7 separate regions of the Homo sapiens genome follow, and regions 2, 3, 4, 5, 6 and 7 are each linked to region 1. The links are contacts of gene promoters, found by promoter capture Hi-C in blood cells and fetal thymus (Javierre and others, 2016). All regions are on one chromosome and are shown on one strand. The core of a region is centred on a gene start or on the middle of the fragment in contact, and the rest is flanking DNA. Distances in the headings are between cores, read along the strand shown. Region 1 holds the start of SDK2 (sidekick cell adhesion molecule 2). Region 2 has its middle 27 kb from the start of LINC02074. Region 3 has its middle 9.7 kb from the start of LINC02074. Region 4 overlaps LINC02074 (long intergenic non-protein coding RNA 2074). Region 5 overlaps LINC02074 (long intergenic non-protein coding RNA 2074). Region 6 has its middle 78 kb from the start of LINC02074. Region 7 has its middle 98 kb from the start of LINC02074.

What was found. Contacts are between HindIII fragments. The CHiCAGO score rates a contact against its expected background, and 5 or more counts as called.
Region 2: a contact is called between a fragment that was not itself captured here and the fragment with the promoter of SDK2 in region 1, in 2 of 17 cell types (M1 macrophages and M2 macrophages). The highest score is 5.8, in M1 macrophages.
Region 3: a contact is called between a fragment that was not itself captured here and the fragment with the promoter of SDK2 in region 1, in 2 of 17 cell types (M1 macrophages and M0 macrophages). The highest score is 5.8, in M1 macrophages.
Region 4: a contact is called between a fragment that was not itself captured here and the fragment with the promoter of SDK2 in region 1, in 2 of 17 cell types (M0 macrophages and M2 macrophages). The highest score is 5.6, in M0 macrophages.
Region 5: a fragment that was not itself captured here is called in contact with the fragment with the promoter of SDK2 in region 1 in 1 of 17 cell types (M1 macrophages); the score reaches 5.7 in M1 macrophages.
Region 6: a fragment that was not itself captured here is called in contact with the fragment with the promoter of SDK2 in region 1 in 2 of 17 cell types (M2 macrophages and M0 macrophages); the score reaches 6.3 in M2 macrophages.
Region 7: a fragment that was not itself captured here is called in contact with the fragment with the promoter of SDK2 in region 1 in 4 of 17 cell types (M1 macrophages, M2 macrophages, monocytes and 1 more); the score reaches 7.9 in M1 macrophages.

What each region holds. Positions count from the first base shown.
Region 1 is chr17:73,642,910-73,646,094 of GRCh38, reverse strand. It overlaps SDK2 (sidekick cell adhesion molecule 2), which reads left to right and starts at 1,650. Exons shown (of 45, transcript NM_001144952.2): 1 at 1,650-2,070. The coding sequence starts at 2,007. It overlaps LOC124904054 (a long non-coding RNA gene), which reads right to left and starts at 621. Exons shown (of 2, transcript XR_007065893.1): 1 at 401-621; 2 at 1-274. The HindIII fragment of the contact is 5,171 bases long and covers 1-3,185 here.
Region 2 is chr17:74,138,033-74,141,217 of GRCh38, reverse strand. No RefSeq gene overlaps it. Among named protein-coding and RNA genes, the nearest start is that of LINC02074, 27 kb to the right of the region's middle. The HindIII fragment of the contact is 2,270 bases long and covers 486-2,755 here.
Region 3 is chr17:74,121,050-74,124,234 of GRCh38, reverse strand. No RefSeq gene overlaps it. Among named protein-coding and RNA genes, the nearest start is that of LINC02074, 9.7 kb to the right of the region's middle. The HindIII fragment of the contact is 2,592 bases long and covers 424-3,015 here.
Region 4 is chr17:74,093,616-74,096,800 of GRCh38, reverse strand. It overlaps LINC02074 (long intergenic non-protein coding RNA 2074), which reads left to right. Exons shown (of 5, transcript NR_184085.1): 3 at 73-168. Among named protein-coding and RNA genes, the nearest start is that of LINC02074, 18 kb to the left of the region's middle. The HindIII fragment of the contact is 279 bases long and covers 1,469-1,747 here.
Region 5 is chr17:74,069,124-74,072,308 of GRCh38, reverse strand. The region is part of intron 4 of LINC02074 (long intergenic non-protein coding RNA 2074); the gene reads left to right. Among named protein-coding and RNA genes, the nearest start is that of LINC02074, 42 kb to the left of the region's middle. The HindIII fragment of the contact is 585 bases long and covers 1,188-1,772 here.
Region 6 is chr17:74,033,104-74,036,288 of GRCh38, reverse strand. No RefSeq gene overlaps it. Among named protein-coding and RNA genes, the nearest start is that of LINC02074, 78 kb to the left of the region's middle. The HindIII fragment of the contact is 3,996 bases long and covers 1-3,185 here.
Region 7 is chr17:74,013,409-74,016,593 of GRCh38, reverse strand. No RefSeq gene overlaps it. Among named protein-coding and RNA genes, the nearest start is that of LINC02074, 98 kb to the left of the region's middle. The HindIII fragment of the contact is 6,027 bases long and covers 1-3,185 here.

The sequences.
Region 1 (3,185 bases), core at 401-2,900:
AGAACATGTTTTAATATGCAATATTAATATACTTTTCCTTATGCCAACGCAGTTGCAAAATCTTATTTTTAATAATTTTGTTAGCAGGGAAAGGAGTCCACCGAGGCGAAGGCACCTGAAATTTTCCCAGTGCCCGGGAAATTTTAACAGAAGCCTGTTAACCCCAGCTGAGCTTCGTGGAGTAGGCGCTAGCTCTGGGCCACAGCAGAGGACGCCTCCGGGCTCTCTTGTTTGAATTCCTCCACCAATGTCCGGTTCTTCTACTCTTTACAAGCTGGGCTCCGAAGGAAAAAAGAAGAAACAAAGAACGCACGCTCCTTGGCACCAACTTCACTTTCTCAGGCTTCTGCAGGTCCCAGGCCTCCCGATGTCTCCCCCTCCGCCCTGAGCATTTCCAGACCTTGGAGAGCCTGACTTGGGAAGGGGAAACTGGAATCAATCGGTTGACCGACCCCCTTTTCCCAACCGCCGCCTCCCCACCAATCACTCCATGTCCGGAAGGGGGCTGGGGGCTCCCGACTATAGGAGACTCTGGGAGTCCTATGAGGCCTTTGAGACAGGGGCGCGAGCGAGGCTGGAAGGAAAGGCTGGGCAGAGAGCGGAGGGGCTCGCGCGCATCTCTCCCGGCGCGGCAGAAGGTTGGCACTGCTGCCCCCCTGCGGGTCCCAGAGCCGCTGGGCGCCCGCGGCCGCGCAGTCGGATTGTATTTCTGCGGGGCTCGCTCCCGGGCCTGGCTCGGGGCCGCCGCCGCCGCCGCCGCCCCTCCCGGCGCGCAGGCTGCTCTCCAGTCGCGGCCACGGGGTAGCGCTCGGCCCCCCTCTCCGCGTCTCCGCCTCCGCCGCGCTCGTCCCCGGCTCACGCTGCCCCCGCAGCTCCGGCTCGGCGCAGGCAGGAGCGGCTCTCTGGACGCCGAGCCCGGGAAGCGGAGGGCGGCGGGCTCGGCGAGCGGCAGCGGCGGCCGAGGCGCTGGGGCGGCCGTTGCTCCTCCGGCCCGGGAGGTCGGCGATCGCCGGGCGTCCGAAGGGGCGCCGCGTCCCCGGAGCCGGGGCTGCCCGCCGGGCTCTCCGTGCGTCTTCCCGAGAGCTCCGGCCGGGGCGCGGCGGAGGGCAGAGCCGCCGGTCTCCATCCTCGGGCCGGCAGGAGGCTCTGCGCCCGGGCGCCGGCGACAGCCCGCGTCGCGAAGCCCAGCACCCTCCCCCGCCGCCCCGCGGCTGGCGCGGACATGGGCGCTCAGGGCTGCGCGCCCGGCTCCGGGACCCGCAAAGTTTGCTAGCCGGCTGGGCGCGGAGCCGAGGGCGCGCCCGGCCCCAGCGCCCCCGGAGGAGACCCGGCGTCTCCCGATTCGGCGCGAGGGCGGTGGAGCCCAGAGGGGGTGGTTCGGCCCCGCCAGATGCTGCCTGCAAAGTTAGAGAGAAGAAAACTTCAGCTCCAGGGAGATTCGGACCGCTATGCTCACCGCGTCCCCCGAAACCGGCGCCCCTAAAAGAACCCCCGCACCCGCGTCTGCCACTGCGCTCGGCTCTGGCCGGGTCCCGGGGGCCCGGCGCCTGGAACGGCGGTGACTGCGTCGGCCGGGAGAACCCAACCAGGGGGCGGGGAGGGGGCGGGCAACGTGGCCACGGGAGGAAGTTTCCTGAAGTTGTCCATTTATTCCGGAGCTCGGCCGGCGACCCGGCCGGATCGCAGAGGCCGCCCTGTTTGGGAGAAGTCGGAGTTGGGGTGCTAAGGGAGAGAGGCGCCCTAGTCCGAGAGGGCGGCCTGGCCTCTTTCTCCCTGCTCGCCCCTCGCCTTCCGGGCGCGCTGCCGGGCTCGGACTAGTACAGAAGAGGAGGAAGGGTTGGGGTAGCCAAGCGCTGCCCCTCCCGGGCATATTACACCCCGGGGCACGGAGCCGCGTAGACTGACTGTTTCCTGGGACTAAGCCACGGGGTATCGGACCCCACCAGGATTATAAAACAGGGCGGAGGGAAGGGAGACCCCGAGGACCCCTCTCCAGGCTGGTCACCATGTGGGGGCTTTTGATCTGGACACTGCTAGCTCTGCATCAGATCCGCGCGGCCAGAGCCCAAGGTAAGGAGGGACCCCCACGTGGGGACAGGGAGGGGGCTGGGAGAGTGGGCGGGGGAGGGGCGGCGGGAGCTGGCCGGCCTCACGGTGACCTCCTGGACACCCGGCTTAGCCGTGGCAGAGCCCTCTCCAGGGAGTTTCAAGACACCCCATCTCCCAAGTTTTGGGGCTCTTTTGGGGGTGGGGCAGTCTCTCCGAGACTTGTGGCTTCCGAATGGGGGAAGGTGGGGACGACCTGGGGAGGCAGAGAAGAGCCCAAGGTGAAGTGGGAGGGGCGCTCCCCTCCCCCCGTCTGCTGTGGCTGCCCTGCGCCGGCTTGGGAGGGGAGCGACATTCCGTGCCGGGCTCCACGCTCGGCTACGCTGAGCTTCCCAGACCGAGCTCCTGGTTCCCTGCTCGGTGTCTGCGGGGAAGGGCAGGGCCCCTGCCGGGCAGGCGATGGCCTCCCCGGGGCGAGGGAGTGGGGTGGGCGAGCGCTGGATGCCGGGTTGCTCGCCCGGGGAGAGCAATTGCCCGGCTTGGCCACGTACGGGAGCCCGCCCCTGGCTGCTCGGCCAGCCGCTGGGGCTGGGGGTGCTTCGCTGCGCGGGCCTGGAGCCAAGGTCGCGGGTGCAGCCGCGGACCCACCGGGGGGTGGTGCACAGGGAGGGTCTGAGGCCTCCCCTCCTACCCATCCACCCACACCCAGCATCCCCGCCCCTGCCTCCAGCCTCCGCTGTTCGCTCGATAGTCTGTGCAGCCGCTCGCTGCTGTGACCTGTGGCTGCCGGGAGCAGCCTCGCGGTGGAGAAGGGCTGGTGGCTTTGGGTTTGGGAGTGCTACGAAGGATCCGAGGTGTGATCTGCGCTGCCCGCTTCCTGAGGGTGGATGCCCAGACGTCCCCCTGGTCCCCGGGCAGGTCCCCGAGGTGAAGGGCGGCTGCACCGGCGGTTCCTCGACTTTGGGGTTCGCCGATCCAGACAGTGGTGTCAGCGGTGTCCGAGCGGCGCCTGCTGGGGGCGGAGGGAGACGAAGCCTGGACCGAGCTCCAGGACTCGCAGGGCTAGGCCTTCACTCTCGCAGGCTCAGGAGGGGGCCAGACCCACCCTAGGGGTCCGGACTGTGGGGGCTGCAACCCAC
Region 2 (3,185 bases), core at 371-2,870, 500 kb before region 1:
TATATCAATCTTTTAAAGGAAGAATATTTTGAGCTTTGTTAAATTTCTTCATGGTTTGTCTGTTTTCTATTTCATTTACTACTGCTCTTATCTAGTTTCTTTTCTTTTCTTTTTTTTTTTTTTTTTGAGATAGAGTCTTGCTCTGTTTTCCAGGCTGGAATGCAATGGCTCACTGCAACCTCCAATTCTCATGCAAAGCGATTCTCGTGCCTCAGCCTCCTGAGTAGTTGGGATTACAGGCATGCACCACCATGTCCGACTAATTTTACATTTTTAGTAGAGACTGGGTTTCACCATGTTGGTCAGGCAAACTCTTGACCTCAGGTGATCCATCCACCTCAGACTCTCAAAGTGCTGGGATTACAGGCATGAGCCACCATGCCCAGCCTCTCTCTTATTTACTTTCTTTTGCTTACTTGGTTTCAATTTTCTCTTCTTTTTCTAGCTTCCGAAAGTAGAAACCTAGATATTCGATTTTTAAAGCTTTCTTCTTTTCTAATAAGGGCATTTAAAGGTACAAATCTTTCAACAATCACTGCTTTGGTGACATCCCACAGTTTTTAAAAAATGACTTTATTGAAATACAAGTTGTATACAACAAAATTCACCCATTTTCAGTCTATGATTCACTGGGTTTTGACTAACGTTGTTACTCATGGGTCCACCACAACATCCAAAGTATAGAATATTCTCATCGCCCCAGAAAATTCCCTTGTGGCTGTTTTAGTCAATCCACTCCAACTGCTATGCCAACCACTGGTTTGTTTTCTGTCACTACAGTTTTGCCTTTTCTAGAATTTCACATAAATAAATTATGCAGCTTGTAGTCTTCTGTGTCTGGCCTCTTTCACTACGAATAATGCTTTTGAATTTACCCATGTTATTGTATGTATCAGTAGTTTGTTCATTTTATTGCTGTGTAGAATCCCATTTTGCACCACAAATGGTTTATCCATTCTCTTGTTGATGGGTATTTGGGTTGTTTCTAATTTGAGGCTATTATAAATAAAGCTCTTACGGACATTCATGTACAAGTCTTTGTGTGGACATATGCTTTTATATCTGGTAGAAAAAGATATTAGAATCACTGGGTCATATTGTGAGCATGTGTTTGACCTTTTTTTTTTTTTTTTTTTTTTTTTTTGAGATGGAGTTTTTTGCTCTTGTTGCCCAGGCTGTAGTGCAATGGCACAATCTTGGCTCACTGCAACCTCTGCCTCCTGGGTTAAAGCAATTCTCCTGCCTCAGCCTCCCGAATAGGTGGGATTACAGGCATGTACCACCATACCTGGCTAATTTTGTGTTTTTAGTAGAGATGGGGTTTCACCATGCTGGTCAGGCTAGTCTCGAACTCCTGACCTCAGGTGATCCGCCCACCTTGGCCTCCCAAAGTGCTGGGATTACAGGCGTGAGCCACCGTGCCCGGCCAACCTCTTAACTTTCCAAAGCAGTCGTACCATTTAGCATTTTAGAGTAAATCCATTTTCTGTTACTCCATCTTGGCCAGAAGTAGAACTATTATGTGGATTTAAGCAGCTAGTTATCTTTTGAAGAGATTGAAAAATGGATATTATAGATATCCACATATTAACCATTTCTGACATTCTTCCTTTGTATAGATTCAGATTTCCATCTGATATCCCTTTCCTTCTGCCTGAATATCTTCCTATTACATTTCTTAAAGTTCAGAACTGCTGGTGAGGAGTTCTCTCAGCTTTTGTATGTCTGAAAAAGTCTTTTTTTTTTACTTTTACTTTTGAAATATATTTTCACTAACTAAAGATTACTAGTTTGACAGTTATTTTCTTTCCCTTCTTTAAAGATGTCATTCCACTGTCTTCTGGTTTGCACAATTGTTGAAGAGTCTGCTGTCATTCTTATCTTTAATCCTCTTCAAAATGTGTCTTTTCCCCTTGGTGTGTGTGTGTGTTTTAATGTTTATTCTGTTTGGGGTTTACTGAGCTTCTGGATCTGTGGGTTTATCATTTTCATCCAATTTGTAAACAATTTGATTATTCTCTCTCTCTCTCTTTTTTTTTTTAGATGGAGTCTCTCTCTGTCACCCAGGCTGGAGTGCAGTGGTGCAATCTCAGCTCACAGAGGCCTCCTGGGTTCAAGCAATTCTCCTATCTCAGCCTCCTGAGTAACTGGGATTACAGACATGCACCACCGTGCTCAGATAATTTTTTATATTTTTAGTAGAGACAGAGTTTCACCATGTTGGCCAGGCTGGTCTTGAACTCCTGACCTCAAGTGATCCACCCACCTCAACCTCCCAAAGTGTTGGGATTACAGGCATGAGCCATGACACCTGGCCAATTATTATATCTGCAAATATATATATTTTTTGGAGTTTCAATTACACATAGGTTAGAACATTAATACTGTTCTGCAGGTCACTTATTTTCTGGTTGTTCTCTTTTTTTTCTATTCTTTTTCTATCTGTGCTCAATTTTAGATAGGACGTATTGCTCCACTTTCAAGATCAGTGATCTTCTGTAGTATCTAATCTGCTGTTAGTCCCCTCAAATGCATTTTTACTTTTTCTTTTGGATATTGCATTTTTGGTGTGTCTGAAAGATATTTTGGGGATTTTACATATATTTCATTTCTCTATTCATCATGTTCTTGTTTTCTTTCATAGTGTCTAGCCCAGGGGTCCCCAACCCTTGAGCCACAGACTGGTACTGGTCTGTGGCCTGTTAGGAATGGGGCTGCACAGTAGGAGGTAAGCAGTGGTCCAGCAAGTGAAGCTTCATCTGTATTTACAGCTGCTTACCATTGCTCACATTACCACCTGAACTCCACTTCCTATCAATGGCAGCATTAGGTTCTCATAGGAGCATCAACCCTATTGTGAACTGTGCATGTGAGGGATCTAGGTTGCACGCTCCCTGTGAGAATCTAATGCCTGATGATCTATCACTGTCTCCCATCACCCCCAGATGGGACCATCTAGTTGCAGGAAAACAAGCTCAGGGATCCCACTGATTCTACATCATGATGAATTGTATAATTATTTCATTATATATTACAATGTAATATAATAGAAATAAAATGTACAATAAATGTAATGCAGTTGAATCATCCTGAAATCATCCCCCACACTGTCCGTGGAAAAATCGTCTTCCACAAAACCAGTCTCTAGTGCCAAAAAGGCTGGGGACTGCCACTCTAGCCTATTA
Region 3 (3,185 bases), core at 470-2,969, 480 kb before region 1:
TTATCCTCCTGGAATCTTACAACAAGAAAGCTAGATGATCTCTGAAAGGCAGTGTGACTTACAGCAAAGACGTTTGAGTTCATAGTGAGCGCTGGGTTCATGGGCCAGGACAGAAGCACACCAGATGCGTGCCGCTTTCTATGATACAGCATGCGGGCAAGCCCTTACCTGTGTATTGATGATTGCAAACATCCTACGCTGAGCTCGGCACAAGTCGGGGGGCCTGGGAAAGGTTTTCTTTCTCTTCCTTTATGTGGTGGTCTTAAAAACATGGCCCTACAATTCTTTGTTGCTTCTCCATTGGAAGGTGGAGTCTATGTCTCTTCCCCTGGAATCCAGGCTCTGTGACCACTTCATCGGTAGAAAATGGTGGCAATGACACTGCATTTGTTTCTGGGACAAGGCCTTCAGAAATGGGAAGCTTGCCCTACTTGCCTCTCGGGGCAGTGCTCTTAGAACTCACCGTATTGTGAGGAAGCCAACAGCACATGAAGAGGCCAGGGTAGGGTTCTGGCTGATGAACCCAGCTGAGGTCAGAGGTGACAGCCAGTAACAACCACCAGAGAGCAGTGATGGCTTTGAGATGACTCCAGCCCCCACTGTTGGGTCACCCCTGCCTTTGAGCTTCCCCAGCCTATGTCATGTGAGCAGAGATCAGCTGTCTTCCCAGACTCTGCCCAAATTGCATATTCAGGAGCCAAATACATGATTGTTGTTGTTTTAGGCATCCTAGTTAAGGTGGATGGGTATGAAGTGGTAGATAACTGAAATACTTTTCTTCATGTTCCCTCCTTCTGGTGATTCAACAAATATTTTTTAGCATCCTGAATGAGTCAGCCACAATTCTAGATGCTATGAATAGAGTAGTGAAAAAACAGACAGGGATCTTCATGGAGCTTACGATCTGTGGGGGAGACAGACAAGTAAGAAAAACAAATAAAATAGATGGTTTGGAGGTGGTGAAACATGCTAAGAAGAAGAACAAAGGCAAAGAAGGGAATAGGAAGTTTATAAATAGGGTGGTCGGGGAAGGCCTTCCAAGCAGGGGGCACTGCATAAAGACTTGAAGGCAATGAGGAGCCAGCCAAGTGGATGCCTGGAGGAACAGCTTTCTTTTCTTTTCTTTTTTCTTTCTTTGTTTTTTTTTTTTTTTTTTTTTGAGACGGAGTCTTGCTCTGTCGCCCAGGCTGGAGTGCAGTGGTGTGATCTCGGCTCACTGCAAACTCCGCCTCCCGGGTTCACGCCATTCTCCTGCCTCAGCCTCCTGAGTAGCTGGGACTACAGGGCGGGCGCGGTGGCTCACGCCTGTAATCCCAGCACTTTGGGAGGCCGAGGCGGGTGGATCACAAGGTCAAGAGATTGAGACTATCCTGGCTAACACGGTTAAACCCCGTCTCTACTAAAAATACAAAAAATTAGCCGGGCATAGTGGTGGGAACAGCTTTCTAGACAGAGGGAAGAGCAAGTGCAAAGGGTCAGAGGCAGGAGTATGCTAGCAATATCCAGGGGGGCCGGATGGAGGGTGCAGGGCAGTCATAGGATGTGAGATTAGGATGGTGGTGGTGGGGTCAGACGGTGAAGGGCCCTGTGAGGATTTTCTGCCCTCATGAGAGGGTTTCAAGCAGAGGAGTAATGCATTTTAACAGGATCACTATGACTGCAGGGGGCTCAAAGATGGAAGCAGGGAGACTGCTGGGGAGGCCATTGCAATCATCCAGGTGAGAGATGATAAGGCAGGTGCCTTAAATCAGGATGGCAGCAATGAGGGTGGTGGAAAGTGGTCAGAATTCCAATATATTTTAAAGGGACAGCTACCAGGATTTGCTGAAGGATTAGATGTAAGTGGATGGAAGGGAAGGAGTTAAGGATGTCTCCAAGTGTTTGGCCTGAGCAGCTGGAAAGATGGATTTGCCATTCTCACTGAGATGAGGAAGACAGTGCAGATGGCTTTGTGCACGAAGGCAGAAACTTTGGGAGTTCCATTTCGGGCATGTTAAGTTTAAGATCCTGTGGTCACCAGCCTTCAATATGACCCCAGTGACCATAACCATTTTCTTTTTTTTTTTTTTGAGATAGAGTCTCACTCCATCACTCAGGCTGGGGTGCAGTGGTGTGATCATGGCTCACTGCAACCTTAACCTGCTGGGCTTAAGTGATCCTCCTCCTTAGCCTCCTGAGTAGCTGGGACTATAGGCATGCACCACCATATCCAGATACATTTAAAAAAATATTTTTCTGTAGAGATGCAGTCTCACCATGTTGCCCAGCCTTGTCTCAAACTCCTGGGCTCGAGTGATCTGACCACCTTGGCTTCCCAAAGTGTTGGGATTACAGGTGTGAGCCACTACAACTGGCCAGGCCCCACCTCTTGGTATTCACACCTGTGTGTAGTCCCCTCCCACACTGTACCAGAGTTGGTCAGTGTGACCAATAAAATGTGACAGAAGTGATGTTATGCCAGTATTTAGATTAGGTTGTAAAAGACTGTACCCCCTGCCTGTCTCATTCTCTGTCTCCCTTTCTTTCTTGGGTTATTTGCTCTGGGGGAAGCCAGCTGTGATATGATGAGCAGCCCTATGGAGAGGGTGTGTGGGAAGAACCTGAAGTCTCCAGCCAGCAGCCACATGAATACATCATCTTGGAAGCAGATCCTCCAGCCCCAGTCCAGCCTTCAGATGACTGCAGCCCTGGTCAACATCTCAACTGCAGTCTCATGAGAGACTCCAGACCAGAACCACCCTGCTGAGCCTCTTTTGGATTCTTGACCCTCAGAAACCCTGTGAGATCATAAATGCCAGTCGTTTTAAGCTGCTAAGTTTTGGGGTCATTTGTTAGCCAGCAAGATAACAAATACAGATCTGCATGAAACATACAAGCAGAAGGAAGTAGGCAGTCAGGTCTACAAGTCTGAAATTCAGGGAAGCAGTTCAGGCTGAAATATAAATTTGAGAGTTATTAACATATAGGTGATATTAAAAGCCATCAGGAGCAAAGGTTTCTCTTTTTATGGAAGCTTTCTCCACTTCCCTACTCCCTCTTCTGCGCTCTGATGTTGGCTTGCCTTTGCTGTGAGGTTGCACGGCGATGGCTTTGCTGTGCGCCCATCTGACCATTAGGTTCAGACATAACTGAGTCTTCTTTGGATCTTCTTCTAAACTTGGTACAAACTGGAAGTGCTTAATAAA
Region 4 (3,185 bases), core at 359-2,858, 450 kb before region 1:
GCAAACTCGTGTACATCTCTCCCCTTCTGGTCACTTGGCCCCTCTGGTAATCCTGGCCTCTTTTGTCCCCAGACCACGTTCTAGAATTGTAGAATCCTGGCAAGAAAAAGGCAGCTCGTCCAGCCTTCTGTCCAGTGGAACAGCCCCAGCCAGAGCAACTGACAGATGGTGAGCCGCTGATGTCTGCACACGGCTGAGCCAGGCAGCTCACTACTTTCTGTGGCAGCACTTCTACCATGGGGCAGCTCTAATTGCCAGAAAGTTCTTCCCTTTATTTAGCTGAAATCTGGCACCAGGATGCCCTTGGTTGAAGGCCTGTCCTCTGGAACACCACAAAGTCAATCTGTTATTCTTCCACATGACAGTTTTCACACCGTTGAAGACAGAATATCCCTTGTGGATTTGCTGTTAAACACCCTGATTTCTGAAAAAACACATCAGAGGAAGAACAGCGCGAGTGCCCTCACTGACCTGGTTTTCTCCTGGTCATGCTCTCTGTCTTAGTCCGTTTTGTGTTGCTATCACAGAATACCACAGATGGGTAATTGAGAAAGAAAATAATTTTATTTCTTACAGTTCTGGAGGCTGGCGAGTCCAAGGTCATGGGGCCCGCATCTAGTGAGAGCATCTAAGCTGCATCATCCCATGGCAGAAGGTGAAAAGGCAAGAGAGTGTGAGGAAGGAAGAGGGCAAGCGGGGGTCGAATTCACTTTTATAACAAGTCCACTCTCACAATAACTAACCTTTTCCTGGGATAATAACATTAATCCATTCATGAGGGCAGAGCCCTTATGACCTAATCCATTCTTAAATGTCCCACCTCCCAACCCTGTTGCATTGGGGACTAAGATTCAAACACATAAACTTTGGGGGACACATTAAAACCATAGCACCCTTTAGTATTCATCTTAAAGTGTGATACCTGGCCAGAGCAAAATTTTCCAGGGGAGTTAGACTCCAGGAATCAGCCAATGAGATGTGGTGATCCCATGCTGCAAACTTGGCACTGTGTGTGCAACAGAATCACTGGTAGCATTACACAAATACCTGGGTCTTATCCCCAGAGATTCTGCATCAGTAAGTCTGGGGTTAAGCCCAGGAATGTGTACTTTAAAGGAGAGCTTCACAGCCCTTTCCATCCAATGGTCGTTTTTCTGCAGGAAAATGGAGATGTGCAGATAAGATGCACTGGGCATGGCACTGTGAAGCCAACATATTAGTCAGGACTCACTTATTTGCAAGTGATAGATATCCAACTTAATCGGCTCAAGCAAATGGGGAATGTATTAGTCCAGGAGCTTTGAGGGATTCTGGGACAGCAGTAGGAACCTGCCTTCAGGGATGAGACTGAGGATGAAAAACTGTTGCTCCTCTGCCTGCTATCTTGTTTGGCTTCATTCTGGGAAATAATCTCTCTGTGTGGTGAGAAACATGGCCACAAGTAGCCCTAATTCATATTTTCCAAGCTTATCAACCTCAATTGGAAAGTAAATTTTGTCTTTTAGTGTATTTAAGTTAATTCTAGGGAAGGATTTTTATTGGACCAACTTGAGTCTTTTAACTGACCACTGTGTCATGTAGATGGAATGTTTTTTATTGGATCATGGACTTACCACTTCCCTAGATTGGAGAAGGCTCAGTATTGGGTGAGGGAGAATGAACCATCAGGAAAATGATGCTGGGCACATGCCCGCTATAGTCAACCTACACAAAGGGCTGGCTAGATTTTTCTCAGGGAAAGAAAGCTTTATTGCAACTTTTAGATGGAGGCAACATTTTTCTAGTAATAACCAGATTTTTAAAAGCCTTTAAGGTCACCAGATTAGGATGATGCTACTGGGATGAAAATAAGAAGAAATGTTGGTTCAAATGCTAGTTCAGTCATTTATGAAACTTGATTTATGCCAGCAGAGACTGGTGATCACATCTGTCTTGAATTAATCTCTACTTGTTTCACTGGCACAAACCTTGTCTCATCAGTCAGACTGAAAACAGCTCAAAGCCTGGAATTACAAGATACACAATTTTTATGTTTCTTCTTATACTCAGGTCCAGTATGTTGCTGGTTACCCAGTGAGTAGAATGCACATAATGTATTTCACCTCTTTAATGGACACAGCTTTATGTCTGCCTCTAGTTTGTATTCCCTCCCATGAAAGGCCTAGGTCTGCTATGGTTTGTGTGCCTCAAAATTCATGCATTAGAAACATAATCCCCAATGTGAAACTGTTGAGAAACAGGACGTTTAAGAGGTAATTAGGTCATGAAGGCTCTGCTCTCATGAATGAATTAATGGCATTATCACAAGAGTGGGATGCTGATTAAAAAAGGGTACGTTTGTCTCTGTTTCTCTCTTGGTTTTGCTCATGTGCGCTCTCTTGCTCTACCACCAACTACCATGGAATGATAACAGCAAGAAGGTCCTCACAAGATGCCGGCATCATGCTCTTAAACTTTTTGGCCTCCAGAATCATGAGTCAAATAAACTTCTATTGTTTATAAATTTCCCAGGCTGTTGTTTTCTGTTGTAGCAACACAAAATGGACTAAGACAGGAAATTGGTACTGAGAAGTGGGACTATTTTTTATAACAAATACTTGAAACTATGGAAGCAGATTTGGAACTGGGTAATGAGTAGAGGCTGGAAGCATCTAGAGAAGCCGGTTAGAAAAAGTCTAGATTGCCACGAATGGAGTAGTAAAGAGTGATTCTGCAGAGGGCTCAGAAAAAGAGAAGAAATGTAGGTAAAGTCTGAAACTTCTTAGAGATTACTTAAGTGGTTGTGATCTGAATGTTGGTAGACATATGGATGGTAGAGGCCATTCTGATGAAGTCTGAGATGGAAATGGGGAAGAAGGTATTGGGAACTGGAGTAAAAGCTATCCTTGTTATAAAGTTGCATAGAACTTGGCTGAATTATGTCCATGCCTGAGGGCCTTATGGAAGGCAAAAATTAAGAGTGGTGAACCAGGATATGTGGCAGAAGAAATTTTTAAGCAAAATAGTGAAGAAGCTGTCTACTTTTAATCATATACATTAAGGAAATAAATGATTTGAAGATGGAATTTATAATTAGCAGAAAAGAGAAGAAGAATGAAAAGATCTTAAAAATTTTCAGCCTGACCATGTGAAGAATGAAAAAACATGTTTAGGAGAGCAAACTAAGGATGTGGTTAAGTGACCAT
Region 5 (3,185 bases), core at 231-2,730, 430 kb before region 1:
GAGCTGGAAGAGGCAAGGAAGGACTCTCTCCTGGAGTCTTTGGAGGGACCGCGGCCCGGACCACACCTTGATTTCAGACTCTGGCCTCCACAACAGACAGAGGACCAAGTTCTGTTATTTAAAGGCACTGAGTTTATAATTAATCTGTTACAATTGCCCCAGGAAACTAGTACAGGGGTGATGGCCAAGGGGTGCAGGGTATTTATTTGGGGTAATGAAAATGTTCGAAAATTGATCATGGTGATGTGTGTACAACTTTGTAAATACACTAAAAGCCATTGAATCGCAAATTTTATTTTTATTTATTTATTTTTGAAATGGAGTCTCACTCTGTCGCCCAGGCTGGAGTGCAGTGGTGCAATCTCTGCTCACTGCAACCTTCGCCTCCTGGGTTCAAGCGGTTCTCCTGCCTCAGCCTCCTGAATAGCTGGGATTACAGGTGCCCACCTCCATGCCCGGGTAATTTTTGTACATTTTTAGTAGAGATGGGGTTTCGCCATGTTGGCCAACTGGTCTCGAACTCCTGACCTCAAGTGATCTGCCCACCTCGGCCTCCCAAAGTGCTGGGATTACAGGTGTGAGCCACCATGCCTGGACTGAATTGCACGCTTTAAGTGGCAAATTGTATGGTATGTGAATTATATAAGACTGGTTAAAGAAAAAGTCTAGGGGATTTGCCCCTCTTACAGCCAGGTAGGGAAAGAGGCAGGACCAGAAGGTGGGATGGGAAGGTGGGTTGCTCCACGCTGCCAAGGCACTTCCCCTGGACAGCAGCACTCCTGTCCCCAGGGCCATCACCACACAAGCAGAGGTGACGCGTGCAGGTGGTAGGGAGCCTGGTCACGTGGCCTCCCCTGCCCCTCTGTCTCATGCATGTGATCATTCCCTCCTGCTGGTGTTTAACTTTATCTTTTCCCTACCTCAGTTTTCACGCCTCACTGCTCCCCACCTTCCCTTTGTGAGCTGTCTTCATCCCTGTACCCCCTTCCATCGGCCCCTCCAAATAGCAAACCTCCAGGGGCAGAATCCATTTCCAATCCCTTAGATGTCAGGGGAATTGAAAGCACGGCAAATATTTCCAAGATCTAAATTACACCGACCCCGGAAGGCTGAACTCGCAGTATAATCCAGGTTATGAATTGTAAATCAGATGCCATGCAAAGTACTCGCGAAAATTCAATAAAGCTTTCTTTGCTCCCAGCACAGCAAAGTTGGGCCTAGGGAGGCAGGAGGAGGCATGCTGGAACTTGGAGGAAAGGAGACCTGTGACTGGGGAGGAGTGGGTAGGGAGTGGGTGGGCAGGGTGTGGGGGCTCTGACCCTGCTTGGCCAAGACTTCTCAGGGGGAGGAGCTGCCCATTTTCCTGTTGGAGGAGTCAAGAGGTCTCTGTGGCCATTGGATAACATGCCCTACAAGATTTAGTCCAGCCTTGCAAATAAGAATGATACAGTTACCAGCCCGTCCAAGCTAGGGAGGCCGTGGAAGGAAAGGTGGCCTTCTAGACTACTCATGTGGCACAGACTGTCAGGCTGTATGTACATGCATGTATATAGTCAGAGGTGGAATGGATCCTGATATTAAGATGTTTTTTTTTTTTAATCCCTGCTTTAGTAAGAAAGCAGCCAGAGAACTCACTTTGGACCCACTGATGATAGGTACCCCTAGAATGGAGAAAGCAATGCACACTGGAATCTCTCAAGAGTTTTACTTGGAAGGGAGGCTGAAGAGCAAATGGCGCCACTCTATGGCTGGAAGGGGATTGCATAGAAGCTTTTATGTTTCAAAACCTGGCAATCTCTAGAGAAAGAAATGCGGGTGGGACAATGGCAGGTGTTCACTTCCAACCCTGGAGGTACACTGAGGCATGGCATCTCTACCCTGTCTGAATTGGAAGCCGGGGGTGCTGGGAGGGTTACATTTTGTATGGTTACATCCCTGGGGCACCAAGAAGGTAAATATTTACAAAAGCACTCAGCCTGCTAATCTCAGGTGTTCTCCCCTCTGCCTTGGTCTTCTGGCCATTAGAGAGTTTGAAAACATCCCCCTCACCCAAAGATAGATGGGAAATCAGAAGCTGGTGGAGACTAATTTTCCCTGCTCAAACTTGGTCTCATGGGCATCCTACCACATCTGCATAGATGACCCCTGTGGGCAGCCACTGACTCATCTCATGCACTGAGGCCCACCTGCCAGGCACTGTGCTGGCTGCCAGGGAGACAGGGCTAGGAGATGAGGCTCTTCCCTTGAGCAGGTTGGGTGGTGACGGGTTGGGTCTTTCACCCTTGTCTCCCAGATGCTCAGAAGACCAAGTTCCAGGCACACACTATACCAGCCTTGGGGAAAAGGCCAGGTGTTGCCCTTGGTTACTGCAGGTCTGTGGGGCTGGTGTAAAGAAGGTCTGGAGAAGACTTGAGCTGCTTGTGTTGGAGGGAGTGGGGGTTGCCAACCCTGGGCTTGAGCAGCCCTGAATGTTCCCAGCCTATTAATAGTCATGATGAGGAGGATGTGGCAAGTCTCCCCTTTAGGTGCTCAGGGCTCTGCCAGGCAATTAAAATATAGCCCTGCTCATGACTTTAATGAGGACACCATTAATATTGGGGGCAGCCTTAGCTCTGGGCTGTGTCCTGCAGGAACAGCCTCATCAGTGTAGCCTGGCCAGGAAGAGCTTAATGCATCTTTTTGTTCTATAGAAAAGTCTCTCTCTTTCTCTCTCCCTCTTTGCCTTCCCCCACGCCCTGCCTACCCTTGAAGAACATGGAGAAAGTATAGTGCAATGATATGGGCTTGAGCCTCCTCTACAAAGCCAGGGTGCATGTAGCTTGGCTTTCTAGCACCCACAGACCTTTGGCAAGCACGGTGGGAAGACTCCGAGATGGTCCCCCGCCCTGATTCCCACCTCGTGGTGCTCATGCCCTTGTGTTAGTCCCCTCCCCTAGAGTGTGGGCTGGACCTAGTGACTTGCTTCTAGCCAACAGAAGACAGCAAAGGTGAGGAGGTGCTCTTCGATGACAGGCTGCATCAGATGACAATCTCTGTCTTGTTAGATTCTAGTGCCTTCTTGGCTTGCCACTTTCATGAAGCAAGCTGCCATGTTGGAGAGGCTCATGTGACAAGAAACTGAGAGTGGCCTCCAGCCACCTGCCAGCTAGGATCCAAGACACTCAGTCCCTTAAGGAACTGAATCA
Region 6 (3,185 bases), core at 511-3,010, 390 kb before region 1:
AGCTTCTCTACACTTAGTGCTTTAATATCAGCCCTGCACCCATAGGCTGCACATGTCTGAGCAACTGGATGATGCTCGAGTCGTTTTTTTTGTTTTTTTTGTTTTTTTTTTGAGACGGAGTCTAGCTCTGTCTCCAGGGTGGAGTGCAGTGGCACGATCTCGGCTCACTGCAACCTCTGCCTCCTGGGTTCAAATGATTCTCCTGCCTCAGCCTCCTGAGTAGCTGGGACTACAGGCATGCACCACCACACCCAGCTAATTTTTTTGTGTTTTTAGTAGAGATGAGGTTTCACCATGTTGGCCAGGATGGTCTTGAACTCCTGACCTCATGATCCGCCCACCTCAGCCTCCCAAAGCGCTGGGATTACAGGTGTGAGCCACCGCGCCCAGCCATTGCCAGAATCCTCTTGCTTCAGACTCCTGCATTCCTCTTTCCCTCCCGCACCCACTTCCTCGGGAGGAATCTTCTTGGGAGGCAGTATATGAACCTTTCAAATACAAACCAACTGATCCAGAGTCTACGCCCTCAATTCCATCCCTTGCTGGGCTCTCACACTCTGACCACATCTGCCTGCACTAAACACCCCAGGGCTGGGTGCCAGACATCTAGGGATGGCTCCGATGCCTCAGAGTCCGCTGAAATTACTCACACTCACCAATGCTACACCTGCCCACTGTGCCTTGCTCATTTCATCCCAAGGAACCACAGTGAAGGCTCTTGCCCATGGTTGTCGCCTTCCTCTGTCTCAAAACCAAGCCTGTTGCCTTTCCGTGTGGCCCCTGTGAGTACCATAGACAGCCTTTTCAATGGCAGTTGTCTGCTGATCGGTTGACCTTGCAGCACCTAAGTAGTAAAACCCATTCGACAGCAGGGCTGAGGGAAACGAGGAGAATGAGACATCCAGGGAGTAGCTGTTGTGCTGAATCCCTATTAATTCCAATGGGGATGGCACCAGGTTCAGGAGACCAAAGAAGAGACCCAGAGCCAGCAGATGAGACATGGGGCTTTGCTGGGGGCTTACATGCAGGGGAGGGTTCAGCGGCAGTGAGCCCAACAGGATGAAGCACAGCTCCGTGGCTGTGGGCTGGGTGGGAGAACCATCACTGGTTACAAAAGCATGCAGTTTACATGGCATTTTTACTTAGCACCCTCCCCTAACCATCTCCACCTGGGCACCTTCACTTAACCCAAAACCATGGGCCTTGATCCCCTGTATGGCCTGTGTTCCACAGACTGGCTGGGGGCTCAGATGTTCCTCATAGATAAGGAATGACTCTCTGGGTTGGCCCCTCATGGATTCCTTAGCTCGGAATTCAGAGCGTGCATTCAGGTGCACCTGCCATACGGGCTCATTCTTGAGGTGTGATCAAGTTATTCCCATCAGATGCATCTGCTAAACAGTAGCCAGGAAGCCGCTGTGCCTCTTAGGCCTGACCAGGCAAGAGGAGGGAGCCAGGTTAATAGAGCTCAGCATAGAGCTTAGCCTTGGAGGGGGGTGCCCAGCAGATGTGAGCAGAAGGAGAAGAGCAGAGCAATTGAAGGGGCTTCAGTTTGAAGCCCTTTAGGGAGAGAGTCAGGAATACATTCCCCAGCATTTCTCTCTTCCTGCCTCCCATCGGCTGGATCCAACCAGACACCACAGGACAGTTCCTGAAGCCCCAGCAGAGCGGTGAGTGGAGGACTGATCTGCTGGGGAATGGAGTTGCATCAGAAGATATGGAACCATTGAGAGGACCTTTCTTGGTGAATGGCCAGATGCTTTAGAAATGGGTGGGGTGACCCAGAAGACTCCATGCCCTAAGGAGCCTCCACCGTTGGTGCCTGGGGAAGATCAATACAGGATGGGTGGGTCTCAGAGTGGGATAGACCAGCATCTCTCAAACCTGTACTGTGGATACAAATCCCCCCAGGAGTCTTGCTAAAATTCAGATTCTGACTGAGGGGCTTGGGGTGGGGCGTGAGATGCTGCATTTCTTACAAGCTCCCCAGGTGATGCCCGTGCAGCTCTTCCATGGACCACACACTGAGTAGCCAGCCAGCCGAAGGTGGCCTGGGTCTCTCTTCCCCTCTGCTCATGGGGACTGGGCTTGTCATGCTGTCCTAGTCACTCATTTCTCTCTGACATATCCTCCCCAGCTCTTTTCTATCTTTTCATTGCTCCTGAGTGTCTCTGAAATTTATTTTTCTCCTTCCACCTCAGGTGAGAGTAGATAAAAGCATTTCTTACCGTCTGGCCAGAAATCCACTTCCCTAAGATAGCCTGACCTGGGGTAACTTAAAACTTAAAAAAAGAAAGAAAAGAAGTTTAATTGGCGGCAGTTAACACAAACAAATTGGTTTGACACAGCTGCAATTATCAGTTTTCCCTTCTCACCCTGAATCTGCAGTTCATTTCTCCCTTTGCCAAAGACAGACCCGGGAAGGATTTTTGAGAAGCTGGTGGTCCCCACCCAGCTTGGGTGGGCTCTGTGGGTCCCTGACTGATAGTTGCCTTTGCAGTGGGGGTCTGGGGTGTGGAAGGACTGGGCAGAGGAGGGAGCTGCCATGTTACTGAGCCTCTGCTCTATGCCAGGCTCCGTGCCAAGGTCAGCATTTGTTAACCGTCTCACCATCAGCCTGCAGTGGCACTAGTAGCCCATTTTTATGGAGGAGGAATTGAGGCTTGGCTAGGTGTCATGGCAAAGCTGGACTTGGTTTTGTGTCTGATTCTTAATGTTCATTTTTCACTACCCTGTATGGCTTCCAAACAGGACCAAGGGTTGGGTGAGTAAGGCATTCCCCTTGGGCACTAGATTTGGGAGGGGGATTTTTTAAAAACTAGGTAATCAAGATATACAATATTAAAATCAAAATTCAAAGCTCCTCAATCCACAACGAAAAAAATATGCAAATTTTAAAATAAAGACAGGGTACCATAGGGCTAGGACTAGAGTGAGAGGCGGGAGGCCGAGGGCAGGGCTGGGTCTGGTCTTTATTTAACATTTGGACATTTTGTTTATCATGGATTTTTTTTTCTCAGGCCCATTCTGCACAGGTGGGGAAACTGAGTTGACCCTGTAAATGGGGGCAAATATGTCTTCCTTGGGGGTGTGCAAAGAACCTGGCCTGGCAGGGCAGGTACTAAGCGAGCATTAGCCCTCTTCGCTTCCTTTCCTTTCCCTGACTTCCTCTCTCTCCCCATCTG
Region 7 (3,185 bases), core at 362-2,861, 370 kb before region 1:
CTGTGAGCATCCATTCCCCAGACAGAGCAGCAGAAGTGAAGGTTGCTCCCTCCCCGTCAAGGCAGGGGTGGGGGTGGAAAGGATGGGGAGTGCATTGAAGTGCGTGGGCCCTCAGCTGCCTGTTGCTGCCCGTTGCTGCCCAGTGCCCCCACTTCTCGGCCCCTCTGTTTTGACCAAACTCTCTGCTCCCTAAAAGTCACCACATGTTTCTCTCAGCCTGAGAGTGAGCCTGTTCTGAGGTTTGCAGAGACAGTCCCAGGCCCTGTGCAGGCAGCCAAAACCCATCTTGGGCAGAGGTGGGAGAGAGGGCTTTGCTGCAGGCAGATGTTTCTGTTCTCCAGCGGAGACGGGGGATGCAGAGACTCAGCGTGTGCAGATGGGTGGGAGTGGAGAGGGAGCCTGGGGGACTGTGAGCAGGATCGATGCAGATGGTGTCAGTCGAACGCAATTTTGGTGACAGACGCCGATTTTGATAAAGCGCAGTGTGAGCTGTGCATGGCACATGAGCGCTTCTGATGTTTCCTGATGGCTCCTACTCCCTCGGTGCTGTCTCTCCTCCCTCTTCCACAGCGGTTTCCTCTGCAAACTACCATCTCCAGTGACTTCAGCTCTAGCCCCTCCGGGTCCTCCTTGCACCCAGGGCTCATGATTCCCAAATTTCCAACCTCTCTGACCTTCAGCTCCACTCCTGCCAACCTCTCCAGGCTCCTTCGTTGTCATCAGAAATTTTCTACCTCCACAGTCTCACTGTGAGCCCCTCCCTCACCGCAAGTTCCTTCCACTTTCTCCACCTCCAGTGGTTGTAAAACAAGCCCACAGATTCTTTGGCGCTCTTGTTGTGGAGAAGGTGCATCTGTTCACCCCCCTTCAATCTGGTGGACTTGTGACTGCTTCTCCTACCAGTAGATCATGGTGGAAGTAACACGATGGGGCTTCTGAGGCTAGGTCGGAAAAACCAGATAACATCTGCCTGGGTCTGTTGGGACACTCACCTTTGCAGCCCTGAGCTACCAAGTAAGAAGTTCAACAACCCAGAGGCTGCCATGATGTAAGGAAGCTCAGGTCACATGAAGAGGCTACATGCACATGCTCCTGCAGAGTCCAGCCGAGGTCGCAGCCCACAGTCAGCACCAACCGCCAGACAGGTGATGACCATGCCTCCAGATGATTCCAGCCTCCAGGAGTTATCTCCAGCCATTGAGTCTTCCCAGCTGAAGCTCCAGACATTGTGGAGCAGAGATAAGTCATTCCTGCAGTGCCCTGTCTAAATTTCTGCAGCATCTCTAAGCATAATAAAATGGTTGATGTAAGCCACTAAGTTTTAGGGTAGTTTGTTATGCAGCAGTAGTTACTGGGGCCACATCATCCTTTATATCTCTCCAAGGCTGGCACAGAAATGCACTTCAGGATCTTGAACAATTATCTTTTCCACCCCACCCCCTGTAGTTGTAGGGAACAGGAGAGGGTAGAGAGGATGTGTTGTGGAGGGAAAACATCAGAGGATCGCCGGATAAAATGCAGGACACCAAGTTAAACTGAAATTTCAGATAAACAATGAGTCATTTTTAGTATAAGTGTGTCCCATAGGATGGTTGGGATATATTTATATTAAATAAGCTATTTGCTATTTATGTGAAATCCAAATATTTTCTGGGTGTCCTCATTTTTATTTCAAAATCCAGAAACACTAAAAAGTAGAGGCCTGAGGTCCTGAACACCCTTCCCAATGTCCTGATGTCCAAGGAGGTCATGTTGCTTCTGAGATCCAGTCTCTGAGTGGTCACAGCCAGTGCTCCTGCAGTGAGGATGAGCACAGATATTTTCTGTAGATAAGATGCATCTGTTCTTCCTGCTTCAATCTGGTGGACTTGTGGCTGCTTCTCCTACCGAAGATCATGGCAGAAGTAACATGATGGGGCTTCTGAGGCTAGGTCAGCAAAGCCAGACAACGTCTGCCTGGGTTTCTTGGTACATTCACCTTTGTAGCCCTGAGCTACCAAGTAAGAAGTACTACAGGTCAGGCTGGACATGTTGTGATGGGATCGATCCTGGGCCCTCCCTCTCCAGGCAAGCCATGCCCCTTGGACTGAGGGAACCTTCATCTGAGGAAACAGGGCTTCTCCTTTTGCATTGGTTTCCACAATGGGCAGTAGGGGCTTTGCCTGTCCCCAAGACCCAGATGCTCGTGGTGCAGGCTCCAGAAAGTGTCATTCTCTGTGGTCGGCAAGCATTCTGATACTTCAGGAAGTTGTCTGCAGGGGCCAGACAATGGCTGCAACCAGAGGCAGAAGCTGGTTCTGCCCATAGGTTGATTTCCCTGTTCCTAGAGTGAGGATGTCTTCATTCTCTCCAGAGCAAAACAGAGAGATGTCCATTCGGGTTCTTCTCCTCCTCCCAGCCAGGTGCACCCCTAACTTCCTCGGCTCTTGCCTGACAAAGGAGAATGGGAAAAGGCTCTCATCCCCTTTTTCCAGCCAGCCGCCCCTTTCTTAGATCGTATGCGTTCATTAGCCAGGAATGAAAACCAGCTCACTCTCAACTTGCCGCAGTGTCTCCTAAATAATAGTGGGCAGAAAACTGTCTAGTCTACCTTTCAATCCCATAGTTCTCTCATTTAACTTCTCAGTCCCAGCATATTAGGCCAAGTGATATTAATGAGTCATTCTATTTCTTCCTTCTGCCTCCCACCCTTCCCTGAGCCCCGATTGCAGGGGAGATAAGCCCATGCTTATCTACAAGGCTGAATAAATGACTGATTTAATAGAGGCAGATGACTGGGGCCAATCTCTGAAGGTGTGCCCTAACTTTATATGTGTGTGCGTGCTCTTTCAAGAGAGTATAATCTCTTTCCTTTTTGTAGTGACCACTCTGTAATGCCACTATCATGCTCAGTTGTCCTGCTGTAGCTGAAATCATTTCTGCAGCAACCTCTTGGAATTACCTTGAAGAAGCAGCCCAGACAGATCCTCTGAACATTCTCTAAGGTAAGAAAGCTGTTTCTTTGGGGTCAGATTTGTTTTGGGGGTGGTGGTGGTCAGTCAGTCACCATTTGGAAACTGCTCCAGCCCAAACAATTTCAGAGTTCTGACACCAGAACCACCCTCACCCCGACCTTCGCCTTCGCCCCCTCCCCCTACACACACAGCCAAGGTTATGGCTTTGTGCTATAAAACATTTCTCACGAA